Linked DNA regions of Homo sapiens: all the other regions are linked to region 3. The links are contacts of gene promoters, found by promoter capture Hi-C in human tissues and cell types (Jung and others, 2019). All regions are on one chromosome and are shown on one strand. The core of a region is centred on a gene start or on the middle of the fragment in contact, and the rest is flanking DNA. Distances in the headings are between cores, read along the strand shown.

What was found. Contacts are between HindIII fragments. The study calls those that stand out against the background at their distance.
Region 1: a fragment that was not itself captured here is called in contact with the fragment with the promoter of EIF3D in region 3 in 2 of the 25 tissues and cell types used here (IMR-90 fibroblasts and lymphoblastoid cells).
Region 2: a contact is called between a fragment that was not itself captured here and the fragment with the promoter of EIF3D in region 3, in 4 of the 25 tissues and cell types used here (dorsolateral prefrontal cortex, lymphoblastoid cells, mesendoderm cells and 1 more).

Annotation. Positions count from the first base shown.
Region 1 is chr22:36,834,671-36,838,958 of GRCh38, reverse strand. No RefSeq gene overlaps it. Among named protein-coding and RNA genes, the nearest start is that of PVALB, 20 kb to the right of the region's middle. The HindIII fragment of the contact is 4,407 bases long and covers 1-3,511 here.
Region 2 is chr22:36,262,928-36,266,713 of GRCh38, reverse strand. APOL1 (apolipoprotein L1) reads right to left here. Exons shown (of 6, transcript NM_003661.4): 6 at 1-1,563. The coding sequence ends at 681. Among named protein-coding and RNA genes, the nearest start is that of APOL1, 12 kb to the right of the region's middle. The HindIII fragment of the contact is 4,952 bases long and covers 1-3,786 here.
Region 3 is chr22:36,527,452-36,531,228 of GRCh38, reverse strand. EIF3D (eukaryotic translation initiation factor 3 subunit D) reads left to right here and starts at 2,063. Exons shown (of 15, transcript NM_003753.4): 1 at 2,063-2,153. RefSeq lists enhancers at 1,793-2,192, 2,503-2,552. The HindIII fragment of the contact is 12,569 bases long and covers 1-3,777 here.

The sequences.
Region 1 (4,288 bases), core at 59-2,558, 310 kb before region 3:
CTGGAGGGAGGAAGCCCTTCCCTCACACCTGGACACTCAGGCCCAGCAGGCTCTCTGCTTGGGTCCAGCTGTGACCCTGTGTCCTGCTGCAAGGCCCCAGCTGCTCAGCCTGGCCTCTGAGGACCTGCCGGATTGGCAGGGACTGGCCGTCCTGGGCAGACACCGCAGACTGGGGCTGGCCCTCAGTGCTGAAGGCTCCTGAGTTGAACTGGCCAGCACACCGAGGCTGGCCAAAAGTGCAGCCCAGCACCAGCTTGCGAGGAGGCTCCCAGGAGAAACAATTAGAAAGCATCACAAAACACCTGGCGGACAACAGGGGCTGGAGAAATGCCAGCTCCTGCTCCAGTCACACACAGGCTCAGGCAGCATAACAGCCGTGAGACACACACGCCACCCAGGTGGTGTTGAAGACAGGCAGGGACCACCTAGGTGGTGTTGAAGACAGGCAGGGACCACCCAGGTGGTGTTGAAGACAGGCAGGGACCAGCCCAGGAGGAGCCTGACCAGTTGCTAACTTGACAACCTTACTCACACACACACACACAGACACACACACACCACACACACACAGACACACACATACACACACACCACCCCCCCACACACACATCACACACACACATACACATACATACACCACACACACACACATACACAGACACACACACACACACTGCCCCCACACACTGCCCACACGCACATACAAACACACAGACATACACCACCCACACACACACACACACACACCACCCCCCCCCCCCACACACACACACCACACACACACAGAGTCGGCTCCATATGAATAGGCTCTGATATGGTTTGGCTGTGTCCCCATCCAAATCTCATCTTGAATTGCAGCTCCCATCATTCCCATGTGTTGTGTGAGAGACCAGTGAGAGATAATTGAATCATGGGGTCGCATCTTTCCCCTGCTATTCTCATGATAGTGAATAAGTCTCACGAGATCTGATGGTTTTGTAAAGGGGAGTTTCCCTGCACAAGTCCTCTTCTCTTGTCTGCCTCCATATGAGATGTGCCTTTCACCTTCTGACATGATTCTGAGGGCTCCCAGCCATGTGGAACTGTGAGTCCAATAAACCTCTTTCTTTTGTAAATTGTCCAGTCTCAGGTATGTCTTTATCAGCAGTGTGAAAATGGACTAATACAGGCCCCATCACTCATTTCTGCAGAGTAAGGGCCCTGAGGCCCAAATATCACTCCCAGGATTCCATTGTTAAGCCCCAATTCCACCATTAAATTCCACTTGGATCACAGATGCTGCACATACACAACCATGGCCAAGCCTCTCAATTTTATGTTTATTGAACATGCAGAACAGCAGACATCACTAAAAAGGCGTCTCAGTCATGCCCAGTGTTCCAGTAAATTGGAGGTAGAAATTATGCCAATCAGAAAAAATACTGCCTTTTTGGCAATCACCAAATCACTAAAGCTTTATGTGTGTAGTCGTACTATTGGAGCATCTGCAGATGTCACACATGTAAATGCAACATGGTGGTCAATTAGAAAATCAACTCAATGTTTCTTTTAACAGATTCCTTAAGCTTCCTACATAAATCTCACTCCAAATTAACATTAGCTTTCCAAAGAGAAAAGAGCATTCTGTGACCATTTCCACTGCAATTTAATTCTTTTTTAGTTCTCAGAATGATGGCAAGGCCATCAGGAGTGAGGATGATGGCTCAGCATTTTTGGGGCCTCCTGAATATATCAAAGGGAGAAGCTAGAGGTTAAAACAGCCCTCAAAAGAGGAGCCTGTCATGTCAAAGGAATGTGCAGGAAGGCTGAGCAGAATTAATTTCCTCCTGGTATAAAATATTCCTTCTGATCATAAATAAATCTGCTCAGAAGTAACTCCAGCAAACCACGAAACTGTTTCGAGGGGGCTAAGTGGCAAATCACAGCTTTGATGGTGACAAAAGAGAAAGAAAGTGAGATCACTAGATTCAACTTTGTCCTTTCCTTGCATTCTTCAAAAGCAAAATCCCCAGCCTCCCTCCTCATCTCCCCCCACCCAAGAACTGCACATTTCTCATGGCCTAATATGAACAAAACGGTTTATGACCAGATGAGCAGACAGCCAGATAACTCTAAGGAAGAAAGAGGGCAGAAAGGCTAAGATGAAGACACAGGGTGGAGAAACTCTGCCTGGCTCCAGCTGCCTCTCTCACGTCCACCATCCTGCATCTGGCAACAGGAGTTCCCCAGTTGTCACGGGGGATGCTCCAGCTGAAAGGGTCCAGGAGCTATAGGACAATAGGACGTTACAGGCCTCTTCTTCCCACCTTGGAGAGAAGGCTCAATGAAAGAATCTTGTTTGCCTTTTATTTTTCCATTGTGTATTTCTTTTTTTTTTTTTTTTTTTTTGAGACAGAGTCTCGCCCGGTCACCCAGGCTAGAGTGCAGTGGCACAATCTCGGCTCACTGCAACCTCCACCTCCTGGGTACAAGCGATTCTCCTGCCTCAGCCTCCCGAGTAGCTGGGATTACAGGCTCATGCCACCATGCCCAGCTAATTTTTGTATTTTTAGTACAGATGGGGTTTCACCATGTTGACCAGGCTGGTCTTGAACTCCTGACCTCAGATAATCTGCCCACTTCAGCGTCCCAAAGGGCTGGGATTACAGGGGTGATCCACAGTGCATTTCTTGAATGTATTTGGCCATGGAATGCTCTATTCATCAAACATCTGTAACGGTCTGTTATAATGCAATTATTTCCATCTCAGTTTTAGCTGAGGGTCTATGATAAGAGCTGCCACCTGTTCTCACATTCCAAAGTGAGATTCCAGTCCCTGAAACTTGCGTGATTGTTTGTTACTGCAGCACAACTGAGTCCATGCGGACTGATACAGATGAGCACCAGACACGAGCCTTGCCCATCAGACACTGTTGCCTGCATATTTCAAACGGGACATTTTTTTCTTAAAGGGCCAGATAGCAAACAGGTTTTGTGGGCCATGGCTCATTTGGCCACAGACTATAGTTTGCTAAGCCCTGTTCTAGACCCCTCATGCTGGACTTGCAAAGGAGAAGGTAAAAAACCAGTTTCATGGCTCTTGGCTTTTCATGCATTGGAAGGTATAAAAGGGTTAAAATTGCAGAGGTAGAGAAGTCGAAGTATGCAGGTTGTTCTTTAGAGAGAGCTCTTGGGGTACTATGATCCCCAACCCTAAAGAGAAACTGTTAGGTGTAGTTCAATGGTCTATTACCATGGAAAACCCACCCTAAACATCAATCTTCAATGGTAGATTATCTGTAAGGACTCTTCAGGTTGGTAGCCGGATAGTCGCTTTGCTGCTGCTGGTGCCATCTGGGGTCACTCATATGACTGCACTCAGCTAGGATTTTGGCTGCCACTGGAAGCTCAAGGTGGTGACACGTCCCCCTTTCCCACCACAGGTTCCCCTCACACCAGGCTCCAGCTAGGCCAGGGGCAAAGCTTTACCTCTGAACAGAGTTTGGGGTTTTGATTATTAAACAAGACTGGACATGCTAGTTATCTAACTGACAGATATGTGTGGCCACCAGCACGGAAAGCTTTTTATTACCTGAGTAAAAAGATTTCCTCCAGGACTAGGGAAAGGACTAGACCTACAACATCAGAGCCAGGGCAGGGGGAGGTACATTACTTTCTGGTTATCCCCATTCAGTTGATGTGACACTTATCACATTTCCCAAGCAATGTCTCTGGAATAGAAATAGGTACATATTTAAGTAACCATATGGAAATAGGTACATATTTAAGTACGCATGTGTACCTACTTCCATTCCAGAGACATTGCTGGGAAAAGACGCTCAGGGAAAATTAGGATGTGCTGGAGCCTCTAACACCAGCAGACGCTGGTTCTCATGGTGGTGTGTGAGCTCTCATTTCTTGCTCCATCTATGAGACTCTACTCCCACACCCTGTGGACAAGGTACAAGTCCACATACCTGTACGACGATATGGTGGCTCATTGCACAGGATTTGAGGTCAAAAAAATCAATGTTCTGGCCAGGCTTGATTGCTGGCGCCTGTAATCCCAGCACTTTGGGAGGATCGCTTGAGCTCGAGTTCAAGACCAGCCTAGGCAACATAGCAAGACCCCATTTCTACAAATAAAATAAAATAAAATAAAATAAAATAAAAACCTAGGTTTACATCCTAACGATTTTCCAATTATTATCCATGGGATCTGTAATAATTCATGTTTCCTCTGAACTTTAGTTTTCTTATCCATAAACTGGGGATAATGATGTCTCCCTTACAGGGTTGTTAGGAGAAT
Region 2 (3,786 bases), core at 1,224-3,723, 260 kb after region 3:
CAGGATGGTCTCGATCTCCTGACCTCGTGATCCGCCCGCCTTGGCCTCCCAAAGTGCTCGGATTACAGGCATGAGCCACTACACCCGGCCCCCCAATATATTCTTTAGTCTAAAGTAAACTGCTTCTTCCCATTCCCCACACTCTCCAGTTCCCATTTTTCCCTTATTGCAGGCTCCAATGTTCCTGCCTTCTCCTTGCTGCACTGCCATCTGCATTAACCCCTCCCCTGCTGTGCTCAGCTATGGAAATGCCAAAGTCCCTAACACTCAGTTCCATAAACTTTACCTCACCCTCTTTATCCCCCTAATAAAATGTTTGCATTTGGGTCAAAAGCGATGGCTCACGCCTGTAATCCCAGCACTTTGGGAGGCCAAGGTGGGCAGATCAAGAGGTCAGGAGATCGAGACCATCCTGGCCAACATGGTGAAACCCCATCTCTATTAAAAATACAAAAATTAGCTGGGCATGGTGGTAGGCGCCTGTAGTCCCAGCTACTTGGGAGGCCAAGGCAGGAGAATCGCTTGAACACGGGAGGCAGAGCTTGCAGTGAGCTGAGATCGCACCATTGCACTCCAACTTGGCGACAGAGCAAGACTCTGTCTCAGAAAAAAAAAAAAGTTTGCATTTTGTCCTGGCCCCTGCCAGGCATATCTCTCCTGGTGGCTGCCCTGCCCTGTGGTCACAGTTCTTGGTCCGCCTGCAGAATCTTATAATTATTGTTGAGAATGTTTAGCTTCTCCTCCAGCTCCTGAGCCACCTTCTTCAGCTCCTCAGCTGTCTCTGACTTTGCCCCCTCATGTAAGTGCTTTGATTCGTACACGAGGTAGACTACATCCAGCACAAGAAAGAAGCTTACAGGGGCCACATCCGTGAGCTTGACTCCTCTGCTCATTTCCAGGATGCTGGGTTCATTAACCCTCTCCACCTGTTCACCGCTTTCAGCTGAGATTGGCTCAGTGACCCGGGGGCGTGAGGCTGAGGCATGCGGTACTGACTGAAGATTGGCTCTGGCTCGTCTGAGGGCACGGATGTCCTTCCCAATGCCTCGTGTGAGTTGGTAAGTATTGCCAGCTAAGGAAAGAAAGTTGGATATGTTCTCACCCAAAAACTCCCTCACCTCCTTCAATTTGTCAAGGCTTTTGATGACCAGGTCGTGGGCTTGGGCTTGTGTCCACCACTTCTTTCCGTAGTCCATGGTACTGCTGGTAATCCCGGTCAAAGCGGCTGTGATTCCCAACTCCATCCCAGGTTCCAAGAGTACAAGGCTGCCTCCCTCTGTGAAGGGTGCCAGACCCATGCCGACGAGGGTCAGGATGCCAGAGGAAATGCTGAGAGAGCCAGACACCACATTGGCGATGGTGGTGCCTTTGTGGACCTTCTGAACCCCATCTGCAAGGGCACGGAGCCTTCTTATGTTATCCTCAAGCTCACTTTTCAACCGAGGAAACTCTTTCAGAAACCAGTTTCTGTACTGCTGGCCTTTATCGTGCCAGTTTTTGTCTTTCATGATCATTTGTCTTGCAAGGTTGTCCAGAGCTTTACGGAGCTCATCTGCCTCATTCCTGCACAAGGAAAGGTTAAAGGATTAAGAAATGCAGTTTTGGCTCGGTGTGGTGGCTCACACCTGTAATCCCAGCACTTTGGGAGGCCAAGGCGGGTGGATCACAAGGTCAGGAGATTGAGACCATCCTGACTAATACGGTGAAACCCTGTCTCTACCAAAAATTCAAAAAATTAGCCGGGCGTGGTGGTGGGCGCCTGTAGTCCCAGCTACTCAGGAGGCTGAGGCAGGAGAATTGCTTGAACCGGGAGGCAGAGCTTGCAGTGAGCCGAGATCGCGCCACTGCACTCCAGCTTGGGCGACAGAGCAAGACTCCAACTCAAAAAAAAAAAAAAAAAAAAGAAATGCAGTTTCCCTGTCTGTGAAATGAGCTCCATGTGATCTCTATCCTGTGTAAATTGCAGAGCTTTCACTATCGATCAAATAGAAACAAATTTTACAAATGGAATTAATTATCTTTCAAACTCAAACACATTTTGTTCATCATAGATACTCCTCAATATTTATTCCATATGGAAATAAATATCTTAAAGGCATCTCAGATGCTCTTTCATGGTAGGTGTTTGATAAAGATGCCTCCTCATTCAAGGGCAGGTCAACACCGTGACTGCCAAAGTGTTTGGAGAGGGAAAACTCTGCAGATGAACAAAGAGCAGTGAGAGTGAGACAAAGAGACCTTATTCCCAGGATGGCAGGAAAGTGAAGCATGAACTTTACCCAAAGAGAGGCCTTCCCTTTGTCCTCAGCTCCTGGGAAGTGATCTCCAGGCCCCTGGAATGTCCTGCCTGGTAGGAACATCTGTCTTTGCCTGGTGATTTGGCCACGGGACCGTATAGGAATCTGATGGATGATGGGGTTTGGGGCTATTTGGTGTCTTTCCTGATCCCAGAGGACCCGGGGACTAAAGGGGTTAGACCTCAGGGAGGGGCTGGAGACTCCAGGTCAGCCATGAGGGCAGCTTGTGATCCAGCCCCAGCAGATACTCTGGACACTAAGGCATGGGTTGAGAAAGAAGGACTTTCTCCTTGACCAACTCCAGCTGGGCTCTTCTGAGCCTCTTCTCCACTAGGCGCCGACCTTGGCCTTCCACAGCCACCCACTGCTTGCTGGACCTGCACCACCCAGCTCAGCAAGAATCTCCCCAAGTCAGTTTAGGGAGGGTCTTCCCCCCTTGCTGTCTGATTACGCTTTGCTATCTGATTATGCTCTTCACCCCCACCATTGATGGGTGAGTGTCTGACCTGCCTTTAGTGAGAATCCTGTTAGGCCAATTTAGCAGGAACCCCCCACTCTGGTGTCTCCTATCAGTCCTGTTCCATCTCCCGCCCCCACCCTGGTGTTGGCTGTGACTCCCCCTCTGTCTTTACTATATTTGGAGCTGGGCTCAGTCTCCCTCCCCTGTAACAACAATCCTGAAAAAAGGCTTCATTTCTGGTTTAATGTGATTCACAGGAATTTTTCCTTAACTGGGTGAGCTTCCCTGGTTGGCAACACCGCATGTGTTTTGTCCCACATTCACACAGGAGAACACAGCGTCCTGAGGACAATGAAGCTTCACACTTAAAACCCTCCCAAACTCTGCCCCGTGTGTCTCTTTCTTAGGCTGATTTTAATCTGTGTTCTTTCCGTGTGATCAACCACAATTGTGAAATAGCAGTTTTCAGTGAGTTATGTGAGTCCTTCCAGTGAATTACAAAATCAAAGGATGGATTTAGAAATCCCCTTAAATTTGCAGGTGGTGTCAAAGGTAAGGGTGCCCTCAGACATTGCAGTCTGGCTATCTCTGAGTACTTTGAATTCAAACAAAAACAAAACCCCGGAGAGACAGGAGTTCACTTTGCCTGGCATCTGCTCCCTTCCAATGCCTCATGCCCTTTCACCTGGCTGAAGGCTACTGGTTCTGGCCACTGCCCCAGCTGACTGGAGTGGGAGATCTGGCTATTCATTCTGGCTCCACATGGACGCTCCAGCCACCTTACTGCCTCCTGACCTACCACCTGCACCCCCAACCTTCCAGGTCTCACTCGCAGGTGTCACCAGCCTAACTGATGCCTTAGTAGTGACAGCTTCACCTGTGTGCACACCAAGGCCATTTGCAATTTTATGGAACCTCTAGAAGATTCAAAACACTTTCAGAACCACCTATATAAATTGCTAATGCTGAAAAGACCTGAATTTGGACAAGATGGTAGAGGAAGTGTTTTCCTCCTTGGTTGGGAAGTTG
Region 3 (3,777 bases), core at 814-3,313:
ATTGAGACCATCCCAGCCAACATGGTGAAACCCTGTCTCTACTAAAAATATAAAAATTAGCTGGGCATGGTGGCGCATGCCTGTATTCCCAGCTACTCAGGAGGCTGAGACAGGAGAATCACTTGAACCCAGGAGGTGGACGTTGCAGTGAGCTGAGATCGCGCCACTGCACTCCCGCCTGGCAACAGAGCGACACTCCGTCTCAAAAAAAAAAAAAGAAAAGAAAAGAAAAAAAAAAGAATGTGGCAGAGCCTAGACTTCAGGTATATTTTCTAATAAAGGAGACATACTAGGCGGCTAAGGAAACCTATGTCAGGTAGAAAGGATCTGAGGTTTGAATAAAGTCATGCCCTCAGATTATCTTTCATTGTTTTAAAATTCCGAAAGAAAGACACCAGGAGGAACTCCATAGCCTGGGAGTTGCTGAGAGGACAGCACTGTTATCTACTGTAGTAAAGCAGTTCCTGAGTCGTCACTTCAGAATCACAGCTAATGCGGAGCTCTTGGGCTCCAGCATAAACATATCCGTATAATCTATCAAAATGAGACCCAGAATCTGAATTTTTAAAAATACTATCCTGGTCAGGTGTGGTGGCTCACGCCCGTAATCCCAGCACTTTGGGAGACCGAGACAGGAGGACTGCTTGAGCCCAGGAGTTTGAGACTAGCCTTGGCAACATGATGAGACTTCGTCTCCACAGAAGTTTTTTTTTTTTTTTTTAATTAGCCAGGCAGCCGGACGCAGTGGCTCACGCCTGTAATCCTAGCACTTTGGGAGGCCGAGGTGGGTAGATCACCTGAGGTCAGGAGTTCGAGACCAGCCTGGTCAGCAAGGTGAAACCCCGTCTCTACTAAAAGGAAAATTAGCCGGGCATGTTGGTACACGCCTGCAATCCCAGCTACTCGGGAGACTGAAGCAGGAGAATCACCTGAACCTGGGATGCGGAGGTTGCAGTGAACTGAGATAGCGCCACTGCACTCCACTCCAGCCTGGAAGACAGAGCAAGACTCCGTCTAAAAAAAAAAATTAGCCAGGCATGGTGGCATGCACCTGTAGCCTCAGCTGCTCCGCACGCTGAGGCGAGAGGACCACTTTAGACCAGGAGTTAAAGACCAGCCCGGGCAACATAGTGAGACGCTGTCTCTACAAAATTTTTAAAAATCATTAGCTGGCCGGGTACGGTGACTCATGCCTGTAACCCTAGCCCCAGTGGGTGGACTGTTGAGCTCAGGAGTTTGAGACCAGCCTGAGCAACATAGCAAAACCCCATCTCTACCAAAAATACAAAAATTAGGCAGGCGTGGTTGTGCGTGCCTGTGTACACCAACGACTCGGGAGGCTGAACTGGGAGGATCGCTTGTACCTGAGAAGTCGAGGGTGCAATAAGCCGTGATCCTGCCACTACATTTCAGCCTGGGCGACAGAGCGAAACCCTGTCTCAAAAAATAAATAAAAATAAATAAAAACACTGTTCCAGAAATCCCTGTCCTACAATTAAGTTTGAGAACTGCGGAAGTATGGTTTGAACTCTGGCGGTTAGAACCCTAAACTAACAGTCTGATCTAGGCAGGTCACTTGGCACTTCTGAGCCTCAGTTTCCACAACTATAAAGGCGGAGGAGTAACAATAAGGACCGCCTAAGACACCGACGGACCTCCCCTGCGCTGAGTTTCACATTAAGCAGGCAGGTAGAACAGGCGGGGAGTCGCGGGTGACGGTGGGATACATGGGGGCTGAGGCGCGCCGCGAAGCATTGTGGGACACAGAAGGGCGCCAGTCGCTCCCCGCCTCGAGCTTCGATTGCGCGGCCGCCAAGTTTCAGTGATGAACGCCCTCTTTGGGCGTCCCCGGATACCGCCTGACGTAGTGCCAATCACACCTCTCGCGTCTCGGCGCCTCGGAGGCTAATGAGGACGCCTGGCGAAACGCAGTAACGGATTTCCGGGTGGACCTTCGCTTTACGGCTCGTGAGTTCTTCCGCCCAACCCAGAGGAAGCGGGAGAGCAGTTTACGACAGCGCCGGTCGTGTTTACGGCGGCGCCCGCTGCGCGCGCATGTTTCCTCTTTTCCTGGTTTCTCAAGAGTGCTGCTGCTAACGCGGTCCCCGGCACGCACCATCTGTTGCCATCCCGGCCGGCCGAGGCCATTGCAGGTGAGCGGCGTGTTTCATAGGTTCCTGCGGCCCTCCGGAGCCGGTTCGGACTAGGTCCAGCCTTCGGGGGGCCTCCCGGAAGAGACCTCTCTTAGTCCCTTCCTGCTGTTGCCGTCCCTCCGCTGGGCGGGGCAGGAATCCACTTTCGGGGGCCCCGCGTCCCGCACGCTACTGAACGCGGGACACGACCTTGTGGGTGAGGTCCTTGGCCCTCGGCCCTGCTCAGTGCCCATGAGCTGGGTGAATTTGATTGTCACTTAACTCACCTGGGTTAAGACGGAGGGGTAACAACAAAGTCTTTCTGAAGTGGCCGAAAACTCCCTGACTTTTTGAGTGAGGTCTTAGGGGTACCAGGCTGAGCGGTGTTTGGCCCCTGTTCTTAGGAATTCACAGTGCATAGGTTATCTTTCCTTTTTTGTGAAACTGGAGGCTAGGATAGAGAAGTAGATTTGATCTCTGATCTTAAATCTACCCCACCCCCTGTTCAGCGATGGACGGCTTATGATCTGTAGTGGCCTGCCAACCACAGAGCCCCTTCTGAGTGCCCTCTTGGAACCTCCCTATCCTGCCCCTGTGACTAGTACAGCTGTTACTTCGTTTTTGCTGAGCGGCTCAGTTTCTCCTCCTGGTTCCGCTCTGCTCTTAAAAAAAAAAACATTTATTAAAGCCAGGGTATCTCATCCCTGGCTTTCCAGGGAGGTGATGCAGGTCGAGCCTCGGGCCTCTTCCCTTCTTGAGCTTCTGACAGAACCCGATTTTTTAAAGTGTGTTTTGAGACTCGTTGTCTTGGTATTATGATGTACGGTCTCAAACCCCTGATCTTTGCGGGCTGCTGCCCAGCTGTAATATAATGGAAAGAAGGCTGGACTGACAGCAGGCAACCCTGGAAATCAAATCTGTTTTGAAATGATGAGGTCAGCTGCTTGAGTAGGCTGAGCTTCAAATTTTTGCCTCTAAAGTAGGGGTGGGGGGGTGGTCAATGGTGTTAAATTATCTGGTATAGGGCCTAACACGTAGGAGCTCAGCAATATTTATTTAATACAAATTGTTCTGAGACCACCACCCTTTTTCTTCTGTCCTCTTCCTATAGTTTCTATTAGAAAGATGAAACTTCTAGGTTCATCCTGTGTTGCTGTCACCCAAATGTCATCTCTGAAGGAAGCCTCAATCTCCCCAGCATGGGGCTTTGAGGAGAGTTTACTAAGTTCAGCATACCTGTTCTTTTGATTGCTCTCCAGCCTCCAAGAAACATTTGATTTTTGTTTTTTTGAGACGGAGTCTTGCTCTGTTGCCCAGGCTGGAGTGTAATGGCAGGATCTTGGCTCACTGCAACCTCCGCCTCCTGAGTAGCTGGTATTACAGGTGCCCGCCACCACGCCCAGCTAATTTTTGTATTTTTAGTAGAGACTGGGTTTCACCATGTTGACCAGGCTGGTCTCGAACTGCTGACCTCGTGATCCGCCCACCTCGGCCTCTCAAAGTGCTGGGATTACAGGCGTGAGCCACCGCGCCCGGCCTCCAAGAAATACTTGTGTAGTGAATTTTCCTCTAGGAACTCGCCTTCTAAGCATTTTCAGAAGGTTACAACGGAAGATAAATGCATAGGTTTTTTTATAGAAGTGTC